Linked DNA regions of Homo sapiens: region 1 is linked to region 2. Evidence: promoter capture Hi-C in human tissues and cell types (Jung and others, 2019). All regions are on one chromosome and are shown on one strand. The core of a region is centred on a gene start or on the middle of the fragment in contact, and the rest is flanking DNA. Distances in the headings are between cores, read along the strand shown.

What was found. The method cuts DNA at HindIII sites, captures the fragments that hold promoters and counts their contacts. A contact is called where the count stands out against the background at its distance.
Region 1: a fragment that was not itself captured here is called in contact with the fragment with the promoter of STX5 in region 2 in 1 of the 25 tissues and cell types used here (dorsolateral prefrontal cortex).

What each region holds. Positions count from the first base shown.
Region 1 is chr11:63,900,372-63,904,464 of GRCh38, forward strand. It overlaps MARK2 (microtubule affinity regulating kinase 2), which reads left to right. Exons shown (of 19, transcript NM_001039469.3): 9 at 188-307; 10 at 409-508; 11 at 586-698; 12 at 1,827-1,959; 13 at 2,230-2,411; 14 at 2,690-2,787; 15 at 3,615-3,776. Among named protein-coding and RNA genes, the nearest start is that of RCOR2, 15 kb to the right of the region's middle. RefSeq lists an enhancer at 2,443-3,255. The HindIII fragment of the contact is 6,882 bases long and covers 1-4,093 here.
Region 2 is chr11:62,827,544-62,833,658 of GRCh38, forward strand. It overlaps STX5 (syntaxin 5), which reads right to left and starts at 4,508. Exons shown (of 11, transcript NM_003164.5): 1 at 4,411-4,508; 2 at 3,476-3,719; 3 at 18-88. The coding sequence starts at 3,700. It overlaps TEX54 (testis expressed 54), which reads right to left and starts at 5,298. Exons shown (of 1, transcript NM_001395459.1): 1 at 4,778-5,298. The coding sequence starts at 5,207. The coding sequence ends at 4,833. It overlaps WDR74 (WD repeat domain 74), which reads right to left. Exons shown (of 11, transcript NM_001369450.1): 10 at 6,075-6,115; 11 at 5,368-5,588. The coding sequence ends at 5,409. It overlaps STX5-DT (STX5 divergent transcript), which reads left to right and starts at 4,691. Exons shown (of 2, transcript NR_135084.1): 1 at 4,691-4,774; 2 at 6,020-6,115. RefSeq lists enhancers at 4,419-4,508, 4,879-4,948, 4,969-5,018. The HindIII fragment of the contact is 7,048 bases long and covers 1-6,115 here.

The DNA of each region.
Region 1 (4,093 bases), core at 8-2,507, 1.1 Mb after region 2:
GAGGGTACGAGGGTATTTGACTTCACTTGCCTCTCTGGTGAGGTGTCTTGTCCCCAGGCTGTCTGCCTTCTTCCATATTTCATTTATGTCTGCTTTGCCAGGCTTAAGCTCTCAGGATCTTGGATATTAGGTTTCTTCCTTTGGCCTTGGGGTGATTTCAATTTTCTAACCCTGGATCCTCCTGCAGGAGCTGCGGGAACGGGTACTGAGGGGAAAATACCGTATTCCATTCTACATGTCCACGGACTGTGAAAACCTGCTTAAGAAATTTCTCATTCTTAATCCCAGCAAGAGAGGCACTTTAGAGGTGAGCAGTGGAGCCCAACTGGCGGAAGGGCCTGGGGTCCCCACAGAAACTTTCCAGCTGAGTTTCTTCCCCCTGCCCTTTTCCTTCTCTGTGCTCCCCAGCAAATCATGAAAGATCGATGGATGAATGTGGGTCACGAAGATGATGAACTAAAGCCTTACGTGGAGCCACTCCCTGACTACAAGGACCCCCGGCGGACAGGTGAGGCTGTGCCGGGCTGTGAGGTTAAGCTTGCCTAGGAGTTGAGGCCAGTCTTAACTGTATGTCCCCCTGTGCAGAGCTGATGGTGTCCATGGGTTATACACGGGAAGAGATCCAGGACTCGCTGGTGGGCCAGAGATACAACGAGGTGATGGCCACCTATCTGCTCCTGGGCTACAAGAGCTCCGAGGTGTGTGCTCCCCGCCCCATTCTCTGACCTGGCCAGCCTCACTGTCTGTAGCACCTATGCTTCTAACACCTGTTGAGGGCAGAAGCTCATCTCTGAGTAGGTGTGCTCTCTGCTCACCAATTTTAAGCCTCAGCTTTGGTGTCTAAGGTCCTCTGGCCCATTCACTGATCTCCATGAGTGAATTAATAGAAAGCTGGTAGGGTCGGTGTGGGACTGGGTCAGAGTTTCAATACGGGTGAGTTGATCTAGGTTAGTCTGCATTGATTAGATGTGTCTAGGTCATCGGCTAGCACTACTACATTGATCTAGATATCTTTGTGTCTCTTTTTGTATCTGGAAGTGTACATTTCTGGGTGTGTGTGTGTGTCTCTGTGTGTGTCTGATCGGAAGTTTGAGTCTGTTGCTTTTTTTTTTTTTTTTTTTTTTGAGACGGAATTTCGCTCTTGTTGCCCAGGCTGGAGTGCAATGGCAGGATCTTGGCTCACTGCAACCTCCGCCTCCCGGGTTCAAGCGATTCTCCTGCCTCAGCCTCCCAAGTAGCTGGGATTACAGGCATGTGCCACCATACCCGGCTATTGAGTCTGTTGCTTCTGTCTAGTGCTTTATGTTTGGGTGTGTGTATCTGTGTGTGTGTGTGTGTGTGTGTGTGTGTGTATGTGTCCGTCTTCCCGTCTGTGGATCTGGAGACTTTGTGATTGTTCTTCTGCCCATTTGGGTTTTGTTCATCATCTGAGTATCCCCACATGAACTCCCAGCCTCCCTGCCCTGCTCTCCCTCTGGTGGTGGGATCCTTAAGAGGCACCTGGTGACACTTGGTATAGGCCCATATTGCTCTGTGTTGAGGGGAGTGGACTTGAGTCTGGACATGTGTTCTTGCGGATGTTTGTGTCTCTGGGTGTGTGGGCTTATGTATTCCTTTCTGAGACTGTGTTTGTCAGTGTCTGTGTCAGAGCATGTGTGTCTCCAGGGTCTCCTCCAGGGGGGATGTATTGGTCTTACAAGTGGATGTCCGGTATGATCCTGGGGTGTTTGAGTGTTGGGAGAGGGCGGTATGTGTAAATGTGTCCATCCATAGGGATCTCCACATGACTTCTGCCCTCCCTTGAAGCTGTTTTCTGTTTCTTTCAGCTGGAAGGCGACACCATCACCCTGAAACCCCGGCCTTCAGCTGATCTGACCAATAGCAGCGCCCCATCCCCATCCCACAAGGTACAGCGCAGCGTGTCGGCCAATCCCAAGCAGCGGCGCTTCAGCGACCAGGGTAAATGCTTTTGGGAGTTGTAGGTGGGGACTCACCCCTCTCCAGAGAGGTTACAGGTTCTGTGGGGACTTGGGTAACACAACTAAGTTTCAGTCCTGGTTCAGCCACTTATTAGTAGTGTGGCTATGGGCAAGCCACTTCCCTTCCCTCGCCTCTGTGGAATGGGGGCTTGCTGGGTTGTTGGCCAGCCCTGTAGGAAATGAGCATGCGTGGGGCTGGCACTCAGTGGACCCCTTGGCCTTACCCATTCCCATCCTCCCTCTGGCCCAGCAGCTGGTCCTGCCATTCCCACCTCTAATTCTTACTCTAAGAAGACTCAGAGTAACAACGCAGAAAATAAGCGGCCTGAGGAGGACCGGGAGTCAGGGCGGAAAGCCAGCAGCACAGCCAAGGTGCCTGCCAGCCCCCTGCCCGGTCTGGAGAGGAAGAAGACCACCCCAACCCCCTCCACGGTGAGCCGCACCCCCCGCTCTCTCCTTCCTTCCTGCGGTGGGGCCTGCCCTCTCCAGGCAGCTCTTCTCTTAATTCAGACTCTGTTCCCTTTGGCTACTACTTCTGCTTATAGCAGGAAGCCTCGCTCCCAGCAGTAAATGCAGAATCCTTTCCTTAACCTACCACTGTCTGCTTCAGGTGGAAGGGACAGGAAGCCTGTTCCATGAACCTGGGGGGAGAACCTGGCTGTAGACCACTTTGGCTTTCTGATAGAACGCTTGCCCTTTATTCCCCACAGAACAGCGTCCTCTCCACCAGCACAAATCGAAGCAGGAATTCCCCACTTTTGGAGCGGGCCAGCCTCGGCCAGGCCTCCATCCAGAATGGCAAAGACAGGTGAGAGACCCGGGCCCTGCCTGCCTCACTCCCTAGGAGCCATGTCTCACAGGGTGATGTCTGTCAGCAGCACCGTCTCCTGTCCCTGCCAGCGCATTGCTCCCTGCTCCCTGGAGTTCCATCCTGGCTGTGTCCAGTCCAGCTTTCCCCTCCCCTATTCCACGCCATTGCCTCCTCCCCATCTTCCTCTGACTGCTACTTGCAGTTTGCCAAGTGTGGGGCTGACCGTGGCCATCTCAGCTACATGCTCGCTTCTTGACCACGGCCAGGGCATGGCAGCTGCCCTCCTCTAGACATGAGCAGCTAAGGCCTTGTGTTGGGGGTCCCAGCTCAGGGCAGAACCAAGAGATGCCCACCTTGAGGGGTGTACACATAGAGGGCGACTCCAGCCATCCCCATGAGACCAGAGCTCCCCAGCCTTCACCGGCCGCATTTCTTGGTGTTGCATTCCTGGCTCTATCTCTTCTGAGTTTATGAAAGTTTCCCCTCAGCAACACCCCACTCTTTCTGTAGAAGAAACTCTCCTGTTCTTAAAATTCTTAGGAGGCCAGTGCAGCCTGGAGGCAGCGGCCCCTTGTCTGCTCTCCTTCATTTCTGATTCCTCTTCCCAGGCACTGACCCACCTCGCTGCTTCCCGACCTCACTCACCTCCACTTCTCAGCCCCGCATTCCTCAGTTCTGACTTGCATCCCGCTGCTGCCCAGGCCTGACTTCTACCCTGCCAGAGCTCCCCAGCTCTGGCCCTTCCCCTGCCCTTGCTTCCTAATCCAGGCCTCCCGCCCTCACTCACCCCTAACACGGGCCTCTCCGCTGCTTTTGTTTCCTAGCCTAACCATGCCAGGGTCCCGGGCCTCCACGGCTTCTGCTTCTGCCGCAGTCTCTGCGGCCCGGCCCCGCCAGCACCAGAAATCCATGTCGGCCTCCGTGCACCCCAACAAGGCCTCTGGGCTGCCCCCCACGGAGAGTAACTGTGAGGTGCCGCGGCCCAGGCAAGTGTGCTGGGGCAGCTGGTGCACCTGCTGCCCTCAGCCCACCCTACCCCCTTGCCCCAACAATTTCTTCTTCCCACTTGGGGGTCCTGCTGTGTTCTTGTCATCTTAGCCACAAGAAATGGGTCTGTCCCCTGCGGCCAGGAAGTGGAGGGAACAAAAAAGAGCATTAATGCCCCTCTTTTCCAGTTCTCCCTCTCAGAACAGGTATGCAGGAAGCTGTCCTAAGGCTCCAAAGGGAAACCTTTTTGTTCTGAACCTTCCAGGGTTTCCTTAGGGACCCCGGGGATAGTCGGCATCACAGGGACTCAATCCTC
Region 2 (6,115 bases), core at 3,258-5,757:
AGCTTCTCTCAACTCACTTGGCCATGAGGGTGAATTCACTGCGTTGTCGGACAGCACGCAAAGCTGGCTTATTTGTCTGGATTCCATTCTGAAAAGCAATGGCAGGAGGTGACAACTTTAGTTCTCCCTTCCCCAGTTCCAGCTTTCACTCTTCCTGAGGTGTCCACTAACCTATCTCTAGTGCTGGTGGCATCCATCAGATGATCTAGATTTATGAGTGGTAGTCGTTTAGAGTCCAGATTTGAAGAGCAGGTAGACCTGAGTTCAAATCTTGACTCACCACTTACTACTAGCTGGTGGATTTGGGGCGAGTTACTTAAAACATTCTAAATCTCTACTTTCTCTTCTATAAAATGAAGACAATCCACACATCTCCTATTGTTGCTAAGGTTAAATAACAAAAAGGCTGAAAAGTACTTCAGTCAACTACCTGGTACATAGTAAGCACTAAATAAATGGTATCTAGTATTGCCATTCTATTCCTCAAATCAGGAAATCAATAAGGATGATTGCAAAGCTCTTGGAGATCATACAGAAGAGCAGCTTTACCATGAGCTGAAAAACACTTCTTTATAACTTTTCTGTTTTTGAGACAGGGTCTCACTCTGTCTCCCAGGTTGGAATATAGTAGCATGATCATAACTTACTGCGGCCTCGACATCCTGGGCTCAAGTGATCCTCCAACTTCAGCCTCCCAAGTAGCTGGGACTACAGGGCACACCACCACACCTAGCTAATTTTTAACTTTTTGTAGAGATAGGGTCTTGCTATATTGCCCAGGCTGGTCTTGAACTCCTAGGCTCACGCAATCCTCCCACCTCAGCCTCCCAAAGTGCTGGGATTACAGGTGCCAGCCAGCATGTCCAGCCATCAGTAAAAATATTTAAAAATACAGTTACTCGGCCGGGTGCAGTGGCTCACGCCTGTAATCCCAGCACTTTGGAAAGCTGAGGCAGGCGGATCACGAGGTCAAGAGATTGAGACCAACCTGGCTAACATGGTGAAACCCCATCTCTACTAAAAATACAAAAATTTAGCCAGGTGTGGTGGCATGCACCTGTAGTCCCAGCTACTCAGCAGGCTGAGGCCGGAGAATCACTTGAACCTGGGAGGTGGAGGCTGCCGTGAGCCAAGATCCCACCACTGCACTCCAGCCTGGGTGACAGAGCGAGACTCCGTCTCAAAATAAATAAATAAATAAATAAACAAACAAACAAACAAATAAATAAATACAGTTACTTGGCCAGGTGCAGTGGCTCACACCTGTAATCCCAGCATTTTGGGAGGCCGAGGCAAGCAGATCACGAGGTCAAGAGACAGAGACCATCCTGGCGAACACAGTGAAACCCCGTCTCTACTAAAAATACAAAAATTAGCTGGGTGTCCTGGCACCGCCTGTATTCCCAGCTACTTGGGAGGCTGAGGCAGGAGAATCACTTAAACCCAGAGGTGGAGGCTGCAGTGAACCCAGATCACGTCACTGCACTCCAGCCTGGCAACAAAGAGAGACTGTCTCAAAAACAAACAAACAAACAAACAAACAAACAAACACAAACTGCTTACTCGGGTCCCACTGGGATTGTTGAAAAAAACACTCCCGGCTGGGTACGGTGGCTCACGCTTGCAATCCCAGCACTTTGGAAGGCTGAGGCGGGCAGAGCACCTGAGGTCGGGAGTTTGAGACCAGCCTGACCAATATGGAGAAACCCCGTCTCCACTCAAAATACAAAATTAGCCAGGCATGGTGGCGCATGTCTGTAATCCCAGCTACTTGGGAGGCTGAGGCAGGAGAATCACTGGAACCCGGGAGGCGGAGGTTGCAGTGAGCTAAGATCGTGCCACTGCACTACAGCCTGGGCAACAAGAGCGAAATTCCCATCTCAAAAATAAATAAATAAATAAATAAATAAATAGCACTCCCAAATTTTTTTTAAGAGGAGCTGAGTGCAGTGGCTGACACCTGTAATCCCAGCACTTTGAGAAGATAAAGCAGACGGATCACTTGAGCCCAGAAGTTCGAGACCAGCCTGGGCAACATGGTAAAACCCCATCTCTACTAACAAAACAGAAATTAGCCAGATGTGGTGGCACATGCCTATAATCCCAGCTACTGAGGAGCCTGAGGCAGGAGGGTTGCTTGAGCCCAGGAGGTCAGATGTTGCAGTGAGATGAGATAGAACCATTGTACTCCAGCCTTGGTGACAGAGTGAGACCATGTTTCCAAAAAAGGAGAGAGAGAGGCCAGGTGTGGTGACTCATACCTGTAATCCCAGCACTTTGGGAGGCTGAGGAGGGCAGATCACCTCAGGTCAGGAGTTCAAAGCCAGCCTGACATGGTGAAACCCCATCTCTACTAAAAAAAAATACAAAAATTAGCCGGGCGTGGTGACGGGCACCTGTAATCCCAGCTACTCGAGAGGCTAAGGCAGGAGAATCGCTTGAACCCAGGAAGAGGAGGTTGCAGTGAGCCGAGATTGCACCATTGCACCCCAGTCTGGGCGACAAGGCAAAATTCCTTCTCAAAAAAAAAAAAAAAAAAAAAAGAGAGAGAGGAAGAGACTGGGCCTCGCTCAGCCTTCTAAGTAGCTGGGACTACAGGCACATGCCACCACGTCCAGCTTTTTTTTTTTTTTTTCCTGTAGAAACAGGGTCTTGCTTTGTTGCTCCTGCTGGTCTCTAACTCCTGGCCTCAAGTCATCCTCTGGCCTAGGCCTCCCAAAGTGCTGGAATTACAGGTATGAGCCACCACATCCAACCCTAAGTGATTTTGATACAAATTACTGATCTAGGGCCAGGTGTGGTGTCCAGACCAACCTGGGCAACATAGTGAGACACTGCCTGTACGAAAAAATTTTAAAATTAGCTGAGTGGTGCATCCATGTAGTCCCAGCTGCTCAGGAGGCTGAGGAAAGAGGATCCCTTGAGTCTAGGAGTTCAAGACTGCAAGTGAGCTATCATCACACCACTACACTCCAGCCTGTTGACAGAGTTGAAAAACAGATCTCAAAACAAAACAAAAACAACAAATTACTTATCTAGAAAATGTCCTTAATCTTACAGAGATAAAAACTAATATGTAACTAGATTAACTAATTTTCTCATGGTTACAGAGCAAACTTATGGTAGAAGTATATTGGAAAATTCAAGGTGCATGTTTCTCAGCTAAAGGCTCTTCCTAGAACTTGTTCCTTATTCACACCAATTATATTGCAGCCAAGTACTCTCTGAAGTACTCCCTCCAGAATAGCAATCCTGCCCTCCAAAGGATTCCTCACAAAAAAAAGTCTAAGTCCTTGCCCCTAGTTAGCCAGCCGACCTCTTCTCTGTTGCTTATAGCAGACCCTACAGGCCCCATCCAAGCCTATCAGTTCCATCAGGTACCCCCCAAAATTACTTCGGTTAACAGTGGTGGAGCACAGTCCTTCCTAGATTTGAGTAAGGCTCACTCCTCGCCTTTTCCACTCCAGGTCCTTACCTGACGGGTCTGCAGCGACTTGCAGGCAGACAGAAACTCCTGGGTCCGATCCCGGCAGGACATGGTGTCGGGAGGGGGAGGGACGAGGGTCACTGGGGGGGGCAGAGGGGCGATGTCGCTGCTGCTACTGCCAGCAGTTGCAGGGGACAGGACCTGTGTCTTTGAGAGACCCAGGTAGACACCCTGATCCGTGTTCTTAGACCCGTAGCGTTTCCGCGGGATCATTGAGACGCATAACCTCGGACTGTTGTGGAGGGGAGAGTGTCATTCCCCAGGCAACTTCTTTACCCAAACTCCCCCGCCCCACCCCAATCAACAAATCCCCGAGCCCCTTCTGCACTTCTCGTGGACTTTCGCGCCCAGGACGCTCGCAAATCCTGGGGCGGACCAGCAGCGGAAAGGGCCCCGCTTTTCCCCTGTCCCAAGTCGAACCCGCTTCAGACTCTTCTTCCAACTTGGCTCTGGCGGCCAGAGCGCGGGCCGGGGACCCTGAAGCAGAGACAGGGCCAGAGCCAACCCCGTGGTCCTGAGACTCCGGCCCGGCCCGTGTAACTGCCCCGGGCCCTAACCCAGCCCTTTCGTTTCCGCGGTTTCCTTCGGCCCCTCCGGGAGGGCCAGTGACGGACCTCCAAAGACTGACACACTTCGGTGGGCGGAGGGGGAAAACCTCTGGGTGTTTATTTGAAACAGGAAGTCCCACCCCCCGCCCAAGGTCCGCCTTCTGGAAGACTTCAACCACTCATTAGCTAAGGCCGACGTCTCTCTCAACAGAGGCTTTCCTGATTGGACGGCAAGGAATTCGCTCACCCGGAGCCGGGCCGGCAGGACTTGCCCGCTCGCCCCTGATTCCCTTCCCCCCGCCAGTCGTCGCCCCCGTAAAACCACTGCCCCAGAGCTGACACGGCGGCCAGATCCCCTCTTAAAGCGAATCTTACCTCCCCTCTGCCGCCTGCCGCCGCCGCCACTTCCAATCTCACCGGCCGTCACTGCCTCCTCCCCGAGCACTGAAGCCGCCGAAACCCGACCAAAGACTGGAAGCGGCCACGTCACCTACACGTAACCCCACCCCCAGTGACGAGGGGGCGGTCCCACGCGTTTCAAGCCCAGCGACCCGAAAGACACGCCCCACACCCAAACGCAAGAGCGATCCCGCCCTCCCATTGGCTAAGGCGCCACCGTGACCCCGCCCCAGAGTACTACAGCAGGCGCTCAGGGGGCTGGGCCCGCCTCCGGGAAGGAGCCTTAAAGAACCAGCTGCCCGGTGGTGTCCGCGCCCAGTCCCCCAGAGTGGTCGTGCAGGTATACGTTAGAAATTTTATTCTCTGGAGGTTGGGGCGGACTGAGAGCAGGTCTGGGGTCATCCCTTCTCCGGCTCCTCCTGGTTGCCTTCTCGGATCGGACTCTCCTGCTTCCGAATCTGGTCTGGTTGCCTCTTGCTTGGCCGCGAGGAGCCCCGACGACCGAACGTGGATAGTCGCCGCCACAGCACGGTAATCAGAAGGCTTTCGTTCGACTTGTGATTCGGATGGTCCGGGGAGTTCAAGTCGATATCTTCGGCGCCTGAGGGGACGACGAGGCCTCTGAGCTCACCCCTACCCTCGGGAAGCCCCCTCTCACACTCCCTGGGCCCTCTTTGTGTGTCTGTGGTCTCATCTTCCCTGCCGTCCTCAGACTCTTCCTCCTTGGACTGCTCATCAGACATCTCAAAGTCCTTGTCTTGGCAGCAGCCCATGGCCCCGCGTGGCCCTGGACTCCGTGCCACCCACGCCAGCCTGCCTGCCTCCAGGCCCGGCTTTTGTGACATCAGATATCCCGTCGCCCCAGCTCAGGCAGCCCCCACCCCAAGCTACCCCTCATTCCTTTCTCCCATCACAAAAGGCTCAGGGTCATGGTGGGTGTTCAGCAGTTTATTTACAAAGTGGGCACAGGGGCGTCAGGGGCTGGTGGACCCAGGCCGCTTCTTCTTTCTCCGTCTCGTTTGGAGAGCTCCTTGGGGCTGCTCCAAACCCGAGAGCTTCCGCTTGGCAGCTGCCTCCAAGGATGCCCAAAGTTCATCTGTCTCTGTGTCTTCTAGGGGCACCTTGTTGGGTTCTTGAGGCTCTTGGGGCTCATCCTGGTGAGTGGGAAGAAAGCTTAGGAGTCAGGGGGGCCGGGCACGGTGGCTCCCACCTGTAATCTCAGCACTTTGGGAGACCAAGGCAGGAGGATTGCTTGAGCCCAGGACTTAGCGACCAGACTGGGCAACATAAGGAGACCCCATCTCCACAAAAAGAAGTTTAAAAAAAAAAAAAAAAAAAAAAAAAAAGAAAAGTAGTCAGGGGCACAGGGACAAACCCACAGGGAAGGAGACCCTGGCTGAGAAAGAATCCCTCTGGGTACCACCACCTTTATTCCCTGCTCCTAGAAAGCAACCCCATCCATGCTGTTGGCAATAACCCTCTCAGGATTTTAACTGTTAATGCCTCTCAGAGAAATTAAGTGACCAGGCAGGTAAACAGATAGTCCCAAGTCTGCATTCCAGCTGCCTCCTTTTCCTCTCCATAGGGAGGTCCTCACATCTATGCCCTTGGCTCCCACATTCCCGGGCCCAACTGCTCACCTCCCAGTTGTCCCTGCCTGACAAGAGGAGGCAGTTCAATT